5 separate regions of the Homo sapiens genome follow, and regions 1, 2, 3 and 5 are each linked to region 4. The links are contacts of gene promoters, found by promoter capture Hi-C in blood cells and fetal thymus (Javierre and others, 2016). All regions are on one chromosome and are shown on one strand. Each heading gives the region's core, a stretch centred on a gene start or on the middle of the fragment in contact. The rest is flanking DNA. Distances are from core to core; before and after follow the strand shown.

Region 1 (2,700 bases), core at 32-2,531, 240 kb before region 4:
GTGGGAGGAGGAAGAGCCATTTCTTAAATCTAAAGACAGCTCTGTACTGGGAGTGAGGAGGTCTAAGTTCTTACTCTGCCTTAGCTGTTAAATAAGCTGTGTGCCCTTGGCTAGTTCACTACTTTTTTGAGACTCATCTCTCAAGACACAGATAAATACTGCTTGACCACAGGTTAGTTGGAGTCTGTGTTAAGTGCTTTATATGTATTAGCTCATTAAATCCTCAAATCAAACCTAAAGTTAGATTCCCATTTCAAAGATAAGAAAAGTGAGGAATTGAGAGATTAAAGAAGCTATTCAAGACCACCTTCTAGTAAATGAGATGGATGGGAGATGGGACATTTTCAGTGGAAGAAACAACTTAAAGGCACAGAAGTGAAAAGGAGCAGGTGATCTTCAAGGAATAATGTGTATAATTTGGTATTGTCAACCTTAAATAGTGAGATTCAGAAAATACGATTAAGTAGAGTCTATTTGAGTACAAAGCTTAAGTATGGCCACCTGGGAGACACTGACTCCAAATGAATGGGGTCAGAGTTTCAAAGTAGAGAAGATAAGGTTTCACTTACATAGGCAGAGACACAGAAATTTTAACAGGATTACAACATTTCCCATACAAGACCAGTGCATACGTTACAGTGATTTGACTGGTTACAGATTCCTACATTCCAAGGAAGATTACTCCATGAGGAGGGACAACGTTCTGAGATGGTCTTATCTCTGGCGCCATTTGGTCTTAATTACGGGGTGGGGGGTTTGGGGGTGGGGAATGGGGGCAGAAGTTGCAGCTGCATGACATGTGACTCAGGCTGCATAGCCACATTCCTCCCAAGGCTCCGAATAATTTAAAGTTCCAATAGCTTTCAGTTTGAATTATTTAATTTCACAGTGTGTAGTGGACTTGGAAGTGTGATAGGAGACAAGAGTGGAAAATGTAGATTTAGGCAATGTTATAGAGGCCTTTGAATGCTGTGTTTTATTTGCATTTTATTCTACAGCTATTAGGGAGTCTTTGTCATCCCAATTTTCAAATGAGGCCTTAGAAATGTTCTCATTCCTGTAATCCCAGCACTTTGGGAGGCCGAGGCAGGCGGATCACGCGGTCAAGAGATTGAGACCATCCTGGCCAACGTGGTGAAACCCCTGTCTCTACTAAAAATACAAAAATTAGCTGGGCATGGTGGCACGCACCTGTAGTCCCAGCTACTTGGGAGGCTGAGGCAGAATCACTTGAACCCGGGAGGCGGAGGTTGCAGTGAGCTGAGATCACACCACTGCATTTCAGCCTGGCGACAGAGCGAGACTTCGTCTCAAAAAAAAAAAAAGTTCTCATTCAATGTCATTCACAATTATTTTATATTCCACTAAGCAGGGGAATAAATACCTTATTGAAAGAGTGCTTGTAGACTTATGCGGACATGGATTTATAGTCCGGCACTCTCTTGCATACACAAAAAAGAAAAGTATAAATGAAACATTGGTAAAGAAATTTCTAAAACTACTTCATAATCAATTCTAGCTTTCAATCACTTTTTAATTCATTGTCCATATTTGCCTACATAATAACTGCCCTGCATGCCATCAAGAGTATTGATGGTGCAACATTTCTTAAAAATGATTCAACATTGTCTTCAAATTTTTCTTTCAGGTTACTGACACGTATTTTGCAAGTTTCAACTTTGGCACTTTCTTGGTCTTACTAGAAGATCTTAGCAAAAAGTCTCACAACTACTGAAATTCATGTTTCTCCTTAAAATGGCCCTTGATTTATTTGTTCAGGGTTGTATTTGTTCAGTCACAATGACAGACATGACAACCAAGTACACTCTTGTGCAGGCAATGACAGCTGTGTCCTGACTGCAGCTTAACTGTAAGACACTCTCAACAGTAGGAAACATTCTGATTTTGATGTTAAAATAGAACTGAATTTGAATTAATGAAATATAGTAGCTTGTTGAAAATCATAGGATGGTGAAGGTATCAGGACCCATTTGCTCACTGTTATCAGTCCAGCCAGTAGGAAATCTGTCTTGTCGGTCAACTGTGTGAGAAAACCCTTTCCTAAAAAGAAGCTTTACCTTATCTATTTCCCTGTTATTTTGAATTTACACTTACTAAGGAGGAAACCAAGGCAAGAAAGACAGCCAAGGACATTTTAATTGACTCAAGAGATACTTACTTTTAACCAAGTCTTTTATGTTCTGGAAAGTGCCTTGAGATCTTTTAATAATCTTGCCAAATCAGCATTTCAATTTGGTACTCAGGATGAGTGATTAGAAGTCATGACAAATCAGCTAGCTTCTCTGTGGAGAATAGCTGAAGCCTCTGGAGAACCACAGTCTTAAATTAGTCTGAAGAAGCGTGAGGTCACAACAGGAAGTAATGTGAACAGGAGGAGTTACTGATCAGATGGTTCAGAGAGCTGGATGATCTTAATAACTTGATTCCAATTTTCCTTGTATGTAACGAACACTTATTGATTGCTTCTCTTAAATTCATCTCCTTTCTCCTTCCTTGCAACACCTTAATTTGTGTTCAGACATCTGTGTGATTCTGGGGAAGCTGGCTCCATCTATCCTAAGCTTCAGGTTTGGCTAGTTAGCACATTGCATTCCCTCAGCCACCATGATTATTTTGGATTGGGCATGTGATCTAAGCAGGTATAGTCTGAGTGTATTCTAGTTGGTATGGTAAGTGGAT
Region 2 (2,700 bases), core at 191-2,690, 150 kb before region 4:
CAAGAATCACTTGAACCCAGGAAGCGGAGCTTGCAGTGAGCCAAGATTGTGCCACTGCACTCCACCCTGAGCAACAGAGTAAGACTCTGTCTCAAAAAAAAAAAAAAAAATGATAAGAGCAAATGTCCTTGCCTTATTCCTGATCTTAGGAAAGAGGATTCAGTCTCTCAAATCTAAGTATAGGCCAGGTTTGCTGGTTCACACTTGTAATCACAGCATTTTGGGAGGCCAAGGCAGGAAGATTACTTGAGCCCAGGAGTTTAAGAACAGCCTGGGAAAAATAGTGAGACCCCCATCTCTACAAAAATTTAGAAATTAGCCAGGCATAGTGGCATGCACCTGTGATCTCAGCCACTCAGGAGGCTGAGGTGGGAGATTCACTTGAGCCAGGAGGTTGAGGCTGCAGTGAGCCATGTTCATGCCTCTGCATTCCAACCTGAGTGACAGAGTGAGACCCTGCCTCAGCAAACAACCAAAAAAAACTAAGTATAACATTTGATAGTGGTCTTTTGTTGCTGCTCTTTTTCAAGTTGAAGAAGCTCCCCTCTGTTCCTGTTTTTCTGAGAGTTTTTATCAAGAATGAGTGTTTAATTTTATCAAATATTTTTTGCATTGAAAGATATGATCATGCAGTTTTTCTTCAGCCTATTAATATGGTAGATGACGGATTTCAAATATGGAATCAGCCTTACCTCCTTGGAATAAATTCCATTTGGTCATGTGTTTTTATAGATTGCTGAATTCTATTTGTATTTTATGTGTAAGTCCATAATCCATTTTGAGTTAATTTTTGTATGAGATTTTATATAGACGTTAGAACAGTCCTGAAAAAGCTTTCTCTTTAATAGCATATTCAGGACTCATGTCCCGTATTCTCCTTGCATTATGTGTCAGTAATCCAACAGCAATTTTTCATTTTTGTATCATGGGTTACTTTTCAGGTGAAGCTCCCAGACCCCCCTTATAAATATTTATTACATGGATACTGCACTTATCAGAATGAAGGGAACAAGGTGCCAAATAACTCACACCATAGAGAATCTATTACACATCTTTATCTTATTCTTTTTTCTGTAATCCTCTTGCTGTCCTTCTTTTCTACTTCCTACTGTGAAAGCTTACGTATAAGTTTTATTAATTTGAACAAATTAACATATTCATGGAATGAAAAAAAATCAACAGATCTTCCCTGAGCTCCTATATGTGTTAAGCACTCTGCCATGTAGTTTTTGGCCACATTGGACCTTAATCTCAGGATGCTCAGAACTTAAAGGGGAGAAAGACATATAAGCATTAGAAATGCCAAAGCAGGGAGTAGAAATGTCAAACCCGGGGAAAGAAATGCCAGCGTGGGGTAAGCACAGGTTAGTAAGGGAAAACAAGCAGAAGCACCTCCAGCTCTACCTGGGGGAGTCAATAAAGGCCTTCCAGGAGAAGTGACATTTGTGCTGGCACTGAGAGAACATAGAAATTCTCCAGATGGATGAGGTAAGGTGAAAGCCTTTCTAGGCAGAAGCCATAGCTTGTGCAAAGACATAAAGTCATGAAATTACATGACTTACTATTTGGAGAATAATAGGTAATTTTTAGTGCTCCTGTAAATTCTGTGAGACGAGGAATTCATGCTGTATCCTCAGCATTAGAATAATACCTAGAGCATAGTAAGCACTGAATAAATATTTGTTGGATGTAAGGAAACAAAGGAGGGAAAGAGCGATGGAGGAAGGAAACATAATTGAGGTGAGAGCGGTAAGAAAGCTTTGGCAATAAAGAATTTTGTTCATGTCCTAGTTGGGAAGAGACAAGTACAAAAACACTCATGATTGTTGTAAAAACTGACATGCCTTGAAAAGAACATAAAAAGCATTATGAAGGTTCCGAGGAAATAGAGGTCCACTTCAGATGAATGGATCAGGGAAGTTGTCACTGAGGCCAGACACTTAGAGTTGTTTGTACTTGGTTCTGAATTGTTTGGCTTTTTAAAAACACATGGGGCCCCATGCCGTGGCTCACGCCTGTAATCCCAGCACTTTGGGAGGCTGAGGTGGGTGGATCAATTAAGGTTAGGAGTTCAATACCAGCCTGACCAACATGGTGAAACCCCGTCTCTACTAAAAATACAAAATTAGCTGGGCATAGTGGCACACGCCTGTAATCCCATTTACTGAAGAGAGGCGGAGGCGGGAGAATCGCCTGAACCTGGGAGGTGGAAGTTGCAGTGAACGAGATGATGCCACTGCACACCAGCCTGGGTACTCTAAAAATATATATAAATAAATAAAACCTGGAAGTGGAGAGAAGGTGTTGTGGTGGAAGAGGGATGTGTGAATTTGGGACTAGACTAGACAGCCTTGCTGACTCTGTCATAAATATATCAGTATTTTGTAGGCAGCCATTTATCAGCCTACACCACTTACTTGGAAGCAAAACCTGACAGGCTCTGATATTATCTGTAGCAAACATGGTTTTCTTGTTCATGAGGGTGTCTGTGTTTTTTGTGCTTGCACCTGCATACCAGAGATTTGGGGACAGCTCTTTCCACAGAGACAAGACTAACGGGGACACATCAACTGAAATGCCAGCTGAACTAGAAACAGATCTTTTTAAAATGCACCTTGGTGCCCACACACTATGTGTCTATGTGTGAACCTGCAGCACACAGAAGTACATGCATAATTCTGAAAGCAGTGACCGGGTTAA
Region 3 (2,700 bases), core at 113-2,612, 210 kb before region 4:
TATTGATGGACATTGGGTTCTTTCTTGTTTCTGGCTCTTTTAAATAAAGCTGATATGAACATTCACTTGGAAATCTTTCTGTGGAGCATACATTTTCATTTCTCCCAGGTATACCCAGCAGTTGAATGGCTCAGTCATATGGTAGATACGTGTTAAACTTTTTGAGAAACTTCCAAACTGTATTGTTTTACTTTCCTATCAACAGTGTATGTGATTTCCAGTTGCTTTACAATCTCAGAAGCACTTAGTGTGATCAGCCTTTTTAATTTTAGTCATTCTAATGGGTTTATAGGTCATGGTATTCATTGTGGTTTTCATTTGTTTCCCTGATGTCTAGTGATGTTGAGCACCATGTGCCAACTGGCATTTTGTATACTATCTTCTTTTGTCTAGTATCTGTTCAAATCTTTTGCCCATTTAAAAAATTGTGTCATTTATCTTCTTACTGAGTTGTACAAGTTCCTTTTATGATCTGGATACCAGTTCTTTGTAAGATAGAAATATATTAAACATTTCCTTCAATCTGTGAAAACATGTGAATACAACTGATCCTTGAACAAAATGGGCTTGAACTGCATGGGTCCATTTATACTTGGATTCTTTTCAGTAAAAGTGACACTGAGTGTGCTTGCCTCTCCTGCCTCCCCTTCCTCCCCTTCTACCTCTTCTGCTTCTGTCACTGCTGAGACAGCAAGTCTAACCTCTTCTTTTCCTCTTTCTCCTCAGCCTACTCAATGTCAAGATGAAGATAAAGACCTTTATGATGATCCACTTCCACTTAATCAATACTAAATACATTTTAATCTTCCTTATGATTTTTTTCTCTATCTTTACTGTAAAAATGCAATATATAATATATAACATACTAAGTATGTGTTATTCCACTGTTTATAGTAGTTAAGTTTCAGGGGAGTCAAAAGTTGTACATGGATTTTTGACTGCATGGGAGGGAGCCATCCCCTAACCCCCATGTTGTTCAAGGTTCAACTGTATGTTCTCCCAGTTTGTGTCATGCCCTTTCCTTCTCTTAATTGTATCATTTGAGGAACAAAAGCTTTGAATTTTGATGAAGCTTAGTTTTCAGTTTTTCTTTTATGATTTATGCTTTTTGTTTACTTAAAGGTCACAAAGATTTTTCTCCTATGTTTTCTTGTAGGAGATGTTTTAGCTTTTACATTTAGGTCTATAATCCAGTTCAAGTTAATGTTTGTATATGGTGTGAAGCAAGGGTTAACATGGGGATTATCTTTTAGGTAAGTGTCTATTATGTATCAGGAACTTTATTTCTCAAGAAATAAATGTTCTAAGATAATTATCCTTATTTTAATGATGAAGAAAAGAAGTCTCAGAAGTATTAACTTGTTCAAATCGTACAACCAAGGCTCAAGTCCATGATTGCCCAACTCCAAAGCCCATGTTCTTTCTACCTTATTATGTTGGCATTGTTTTCAATGTCAGTTTGGACCCATATAAAAACGCCCAGCTGTACCCTATGAGGAGGATATAAAAATGTGAGATGGTAGTTGACACTCGGAGGACATTCATATCTCCAAACCCAACCTTATGAAGTTGGCCACAGCAAGCATGTTGGAAACTAGAACCAGGGGTTTCATATCAAGCCATTTGCTTAGGTCTGTATCTCAAAAGCTTTAAATACAACTTTTTTTGGTGCCCTCTTGATAAGGAGTCTTATACTGAGCTCTTCTTCTCTTTTATAGCTGGTCCATCAGAAAGATTAAATTAAACGTTTGGCCACATGGACAGTTAATCCTTAGATCACCCAGTTGGATGGTTCATTCCTGCTATGTTTGGTTTGATTTTTTATTTTTGGAAAACAAATAGTGAGTCAGTCTGCTTTCCCTCCCTTTCTCTGCCTCACCACTCCTTCTGGATTCTCTTAGATGCTCTGGTCATACTAGGTAAACAGTATTTTTCTTAAAATTTTCCTTGAGCCATGACAGAATCATGAGAGAGCTCCCCTGGCTCTGATACTTAATGCCCCCCTCTAAAAAGAAAGGTCTATTTGAGGCTATTCACTTTTGTCATCTTGAAAGAGTCTCTGAGTCTTACCTAGCAGGAATATTTTGTTTCTTTTCCTAAAAAAAAAAAAAATTATATATATATATATATATATATATATATATATATATATATATATATGGAGGGGATGTAAACAGAACAGCCCATACCTCTCTGTTCTTGCTTCTCATTAATGTAGATTTGGTAAATTCTCCTTTCTCTTCTCTTCTCTTCTCTTCTCAGGCAGCATGATGTAGGTGGGAAGAATATGGAGCTTTAAAGTGAGAAGTACCTACATTTGAATCCCAGCTCCAGTATTTACATAGCTAGCAAATCACCCAGTCTCTATGAAGTTCGATTTCCTATTCTGTAAAATGGGAATAACAAGTACTTTATGGGTTTGTTACTCAGTTTCTGGCACATGTGTGTGCTTATATTATTTCCTCCTGTTCTTTTATTAGATCTCTTTCTGAAGAGTAAGGATGTGAGATGATACTCATAAAAAGTCTGAATAAGGGGGTGTTGGAAGCTTATAAAGGGTATGTTTTGAATATGGAGCCCTATTTAAGGTGCCTTAACAGATTTATTCCTTTCACTTTGGCTAATCCGGGCAGTTTGATTTCAAAGTCCAGACATGAAGGGTGAAGAATTGTAGTCATTCTGCCTGTTATTTTTAAAGTT
Region 4 (2,700 bases), core at 103-2,602:
ACTGGAGACCAGGGTCTGAAAGTGAGAGAAGAGTGCTGAGCTAGAAATCTGTGAATCATATTCACATGGGTGGCAGCTGAAGCTGTGGGAGGGCATAAACTCATATTAGGGAGGTGACACTGTCACCTACTTGCTGTGCATCTTTCAGCAAGATAATTAACTGATCTGACACATTATTGAGCATTTATTCTGTCCTGGAATCATATCAAGCAATTTACATGCATTCTCATTTAATCCTCACAACCAGTTTATGAGGCTGAAACTTTTTTTTTTTTAGACCAAAAGCATCTTGGATAAACAGGCCTGAGGCTTGCCCAGGCTGAAGTGCAATGGCGCGATCTCAGCTCACTGCAACCTCCGCCTCCCACGTTCACGCGATTCTCTAGCTTCAGCCTCCCGAGTAGGTGGAATTACAAGCGCCCGCCACCATGCACGGCTAATTTTTTTTTAATTTTTAGTAGAGACAGGGTTTCACCATATTGGCCAGGCTGATCTCAAACTCCTGAACTCAGGTGATTCGCCCACCTCGGCCTCCCAGTGTTGGGATTACAGGCGTGAGCCACCGCGTCCGGCCAGAAACCATTTTTATCTCCTATTTTCAAAAATAAATAAATAAATAAAAATTTTAAAAAAAGAAACTGAGGTTTAGAGTTTAGTTTGTCCAAGATCATACAGTAAAATAATGAGACAAGCCTAATTAAATTGCATGTGCCTCAGTCATTACGCAATCTGCGAGTTTGTTGGGCCTACTGAATCAGAATCCGAATTATTTTAACATGAACCGTAGGCTATTTGTACACTAAGCGTTAGGACTAGCCTCTACCCTGCTTCCAGAATGGGTTCCGCTCAAGCAGGAGGTGAGCCAAGAGCCTCGCTCAGAGTTCTAAAAACACAATGTTTCTCACCTCTGTATCTTTGCACATGCCATTCTCTAGCTGGATTTAATACTCCGGTGCAAGCGTCCAGGTTGGGAGCCCCCGCAGTTCTCTGAGGTACTTTTATCTACTGTAACTCTAGGGCAACAATCCTGGCTTCTCCACTAGTGCGTGAACGTCTCTAGCGTTAAGTTTTTTTCTCACCTAAGTATCCCCAATACTACACAGTGATGACCCAGCGCAAACGACCACTCTTTCAACGCAAGCATGAACTAGCTGATAAAACTTAAAAGTGGCTACAAACGCCTGCGCAGGAGCCCTTCCGGCCCGGGGTGAGACGCGGGTCTAAAGAAAAGGTGGGCGGGAGGTTTAAATAGCTGACTGCAGTCCCCGGACTGGCTGCGCCGCTCGCCGCATGCGCGCAGCTAGCGGGCACGGCTTCAGAGGGCTTTCTCCGCATGCGCGGGATCCCGGATGTGGATCAAGTTGGTGGGAAGCGTGCGGTGCCGCAGCAATGGCGGCGCTCACAATTGCCACGGGTACTGGCAATTGGTTTTCGGCTTTGGCGCTCGGGGTGACTCTTCTCAAATGCCTTCTCATCCCCACATAGTAAGGGACTCGCACGGCCAGGGGCTGGGCGGGGAGGCCCCGCGGTCGGTCAGGGCGGGAGAGAAAGGTGTGGATATCCCTGGGTATGAAGAGAAAACTTTAGGTCGTGTTTGTCGCTATCCTGCCTTTGCTAAGCTTTCTGTTTCGCCAGTTGTTACTTGACTTAGCCCCAGCTGGCTAGGTTCAGACCTGGCGCTGTCTGATTTGGAACAAATCACTTTAACGTTTCTGAACCTCAGGGTCCTCATCCTTAATAGGCAGTTAAGAACCTCTGCCTCCAACAGCCATTCAGCCAGTATTATCAGATGCCTGAGGTGCCAGGTACCGTTCTAACTCCCGGGAGATGCGGTGGTGAGCAAGACATTGCTGGTCCTTGCCCTCGAAGTTGGTGGGTGGAGCTAGACAAACAGGAACTTTTCAGATTGTGATAAAGGAAATAGAGGGTTACTAAGTGGCTGTGCGCTATTCCTTTAGAAGGTGATGTTTGAGTTGAAATTCAAAAAATGAAAAAGAATAAGTGATGTGGAAAGCAGTTCAGGCATAGGAAAGAGTAAGTTCAAAGGCCCTGTGGCAGGAAAGAAGTCAGAGCATTCTAGGAACAGAAAGTGCCCCTTGTGGCTGCAGAGCATTGAGGGAGAGGAGTGGCACAGCATGGGGTGCACTGGGGACAGATAACACAGGGTTTCGAAGACCACAGTTAGACTGCTGTGTAAAAAATGGATGTAGGGCCAAGACTGAAAGCGTGGAAACCAAGAAGCAACCATGAAATGGTGGTGTGTATACAGTAGGTACTCAGTATTTATTAATATTGGCTTCCGCCTTCCCTTCATCCTTCCTCTTTTTTCTTTTTCTCCCTCATCCCTTTTCTCCTTTCCCTCCCACTTCCTAGTTTAGGGTTTGTTTTATTGGTATCCTTTGATTCAGGCTCTTGGTGATCTCTTGTTGAATATGGGAGAGTCATATGTATAGAATGTAAGTCCATACTGATGCGTATATGTAATCATGTAAGTGGAATGTATATGTAGATTCAGTAAAATGATTAACTGTAGGTCTGTGCATAAGATTATTTCTTGCTTTAGTTGCCTCAGGCTAGAAATGTATCCTCAGAGTTGTTTTTTTTGTTTGTTATTTTTTTTTTTTTTGAGACAGTCTCGTCCCACTCTGTCACCCAGGCTGGAGTACAGTGGCACGATCTCAGCTTACTGCAACCTCTGCC
Region 5 (2,700 bases), core at 116-2,615, 150 kb after region 4:
CTCGGCCTCCCAAAGTGCTGGGATTACAGGTGTGAGCCACCGCGCCCAGCCTTGTTTTGTTGAATTTTTAAAAAGATATGTCATTTTTTTCTAATTATTTCATTACATATCTATTAAAAAGGGATACCTTTTTGTTGTTTTCTTTTTTTTTCTCACTGCTATGAGAAAGTAGAGGGACTTTTTATTTTTTAACATAGCCACCTAACCCTAATGAATAAAGTTAAGTAATTCTTTAATGTCATCTAAGAATTAGTTGATATTTAGATTTCTGTAGTTGTTCTCCCAGTACCTTTTTATAGTTGATGTATTCAAATCAAAATGCAAACCAGGTCCCCACATGGCATTCAGTCTTTTCAAAAATCTACAACAGTTACTATTTTGGTGACATTGATTTGATGAAGAAACTGAGACAGTTCTTTTGTAAAATGTCTTGTTTTCTGAATTCATTTACTTCTTTAAGGATTAACTTGTTCCTCTGTTCTCTGTATTTACTATGAACTGAAAGTTAGATCTATAGGCTTTGTTAGATTTAAGTTAAGCATATTTTTGACAATTTTAAGACTATGTTATAAATGGTGACTTGTACTTCATATTGCAGCTATCAGCATGCAAATGTCACCGTTACATTGAGGTCTTCCTTTACCCTTCTGTTTCATATCGAAACTGCCTATCCCCACCCCGCACTTCCTAGTCCCCTTCCTTGATTTTGTTTTCTCCATAGTAATTACCATCTTCTAATATTCTGTATAATTTCTTGTTAATTATGTTCCTTGTCCATTTCCCCATGCAGGAACATAAGCTTCCCTTGAGCAGGGATTTTTATGTTTTTTAATTGTTGTTTCTACAGAATCAAGAACAGTGCCTGGTAAAATAAATATTTGTTGAATGAATAAATGAATTAATTGATGCTTTTGTGATACATTTTACTCAACAAATATATATCAGACTTTGTTCTGGGCACTGGACGGTGTCCATTAGCACAATTGTTAAGTCTTATGCGTTGCAATTGTTTGCCATATGTGTCTATCTCCTTCAGACTTTGAGCTCCGTAAATTCAGAGGCTGCAGATCCATTAGTCTCTATCCCAGTGCCTGGCAGGTTCCTAGGAACATTGAAGGGACATTATAAATGTTTCACTTATGTTTTACGTGAATAAAATCAGGCTTTCTTTTTTTGTTGTTCTTTTCTTTAAAAAATTTTTTAAAAAATCGTATCTATCTATCTAGAGACTGGGTTATGAGACTGGCTAATTTTTATATTTTTGATAGAGATGAGGTTTCACCATGTTACCAAGGTTGGTCTCAAACTCCTGGGCTCAAGCGATTCACCTACCTCAGCCTCCCAAAGTGCTGGGATTACAGGCATGAACCACTGTGCCTGGCATCTTTTTGAGTGTTGCTCTGTTGCCCAATCTAGAGTGCAATGGCGTGATCACTGCCCACTGAAGTCTGGACTCCCAGGCTCAAGCCATCCTCCCACCTCAGCCTCCTGAGGAGCTGGGACCACAGGCACATGCCACCACTCCCGGCTAATTTTTTCTTTTTAATTTTTTTTGTAGAGATGGAGTCTCTCTGTGTTGCCCAGGCTGGTCGCGAATTCCTGAGCTCAAGCAACCCTCCTGCTTGGCCCTCCCAAAGGATTGGGATTACAGACGTGAGCTACCACATCTGACCAAAATCAGGATTTCTGTTCTCAAGAAGTTTTCGATCTCTCAGTGATCTATTTTCCGTTAGTCTTTTTCTTAGCAATATCTACCATTATTATTATATTAAAGATCTGTTACCAATAATCATCTATAATAATACTTCTTAGAGCAGTTAACATTATATTGCTTGTTAGAGTTTGAAAGCACTTTCCATATGTAATATTTTATTTAATCCTGGTGACAGCACCATTGTTATCTCTAAATTCCAGATATGGAACTAAGCTTAGAGCTGTTTAGTATCCAAGGTCACCCAGCTAGTAAATGGAAGGTATGGATTTGAACTTGGGTTTTTTTTTTAAAAAACCTTTTGTTATGGAACATTTCAGATATATACTATGTAAGTAAAGAGAATAGTTTAATTAATTCCCATGTACCCATTACCTGGCTTCAAAAATTATCATTTTGTGGCCAAACTTGTTTCATTTTCCCTCTTCCCCAATCCACTTCTACTTCTTTACCCTCACCTTCTCCACCAGATTCTTATGAAAATAAATTCCTGGCATCATATTATTTTAATCATAAATTTTGATTTATATCTTTAAGTGGTGAAGACTCTTTTTTTATTATTATACTTTAGGTTCTAGGGCACATGTGCACAACGTGCAGGTTTGTTACATGTGTATACATGTGCCATGTTGGCTTGCTGCACCCATTAACTCATCATTTACTTTAGGTATTTCTCCTAATGCTATCCCTCCCCCAGCCCCCCACTCCCCAACAGGCCCCGGTGTGTGATGTTTCCCGCCCTGTGTCCAAGTGTTCTCACTGTTCAATTCCCACCTATGAGTGAGAACATGCGGTGTTTGGTTTTCTGTCCTTGTGATAGTTTGCTGAGAAGGATGGTTTTCAGCTTCATCCATTTCCCTGCGAAGGACATGAACGCATCCTTTTTTATGGCTGCATAGTATTCCATGGTGTATATGTGCCACATTTTCTTAATCCAGTCTATCGTTGGTGGACATTTGGGTTACTTCCAAGTCTTTGCTCTTGTGAAT

The links. The method cuts DNA at HindIII sites, captures the fragments that hold promoters and counts their contacts. A CHiCAGO score of 5 or more calls a contact.
Region 1: a contact is called between a fragment that was not itself captured here and the fragment with the promoter of ALG8 in region 4, in 3 of 17 cell types (activated CD4 T cells, monocytes and naive CD4 T cells). The highest score is 6.4, in activated CD4 T cells.
Region 2: a fragment that was not itself captured here is called in contact with the fragment with the promoter of ALG8 in region 4 in 1 of 17 cell types (activated CD4 T cells); the score reaches 5.2 in activated CD4 T cells.
Region 3: a contact is called between a fragment that was not itself captured here and the fragment with the promoter of ALG8 in region 4, in 4 of 17 cell types (activated CD4 T cells, naive CD4 T cells, non-activated CD4 T cells and 1 more). The highest score is 6.1, in activated CD4 T cells.
Region 5: a fragment that was not itself captured here is called in contact with the fragment with the promoter of ALG8 in region 4 in 1 of 17 cell types (naive CD4 T cells); the score reaches 6.0 in naive CD4 T cells.

Annotation. Positions count from the first base shown.
Region 1 is chr11:78,378,839-78,381,538 of GRCh38, reverse strand. All of the region lies in intron 1 of GAB2 (GRB2 associated binding protein 2), which reads left to right. Among named protein-coding and RNA genes, the nearest start is that of GAB2, 38 kb to the left of the region's middle. The HindIII fragment of the contact is 1,586 bases long and covers 489-2,074 here.
Region 2 is chr11:78,285,060-78,287,759 of GRCh38, reverse strand. All of the region lies in intron 1 of GAB2 (GRB2 associated binding protein 2), which reads left to right. Among named protein-coding and RNA genes, the nearest start is that of USP35, 97 kb to the right of the region's middle. The HindIII fragment of the contact is 641 bases long and covers 1,120-1,760 here.
Region 3 is chr11:78,346,135-78,348,834 of GRCh38, reverse strand. The region is part of intron 1 of GAB2 (GRB2 associated binding protein 2); the gene reads left to right. Among named protein-coding and RNA genes, the nearest start is that of GAB2, 70 kb to the left of the region's middle. The HindIII fragment of the contact is 575 bases long and covers 1,075-1,649 here.
Region 4 is chr11:78,138,278-78,140,977 of GRCh38, reverse strand. ALG8 (ALG8 alpha-1,3-glucosyltransferase) reads left to right here and starts at 1,352. Exons shown (of 13, transcript NM_024079.5): 1 at 1,352-1,484. The coding sequence starts at 1,390. It overlaps KCTD21-AS1 (KCTD21 antisense RNA 1), which reads right to left and starts at 1,185. Exons shown (of 3, transcript NR_102281.1): 1 at 906-1,185. RefSeq lists enhancers at 1-619, 780-889, 1,500-1,579, 1,660-1,769. The HindIII fragment of the contact is 5,506 bases long and covers 1-1,621 here.
Region 5 is chr11:77,986,557-77,989,256 of GRCh38, reverse strand. The region is part of intron 2 of INTS4 (integrator complex subunit 4); the gene reads left to right. Among named protein-coding and RNA genes, the nearest start is that of INTS4, 6.8 kb to the left of the region's middle. The HindIII fragment of the contact is 1,128 bases long and covers 802-1,929 here.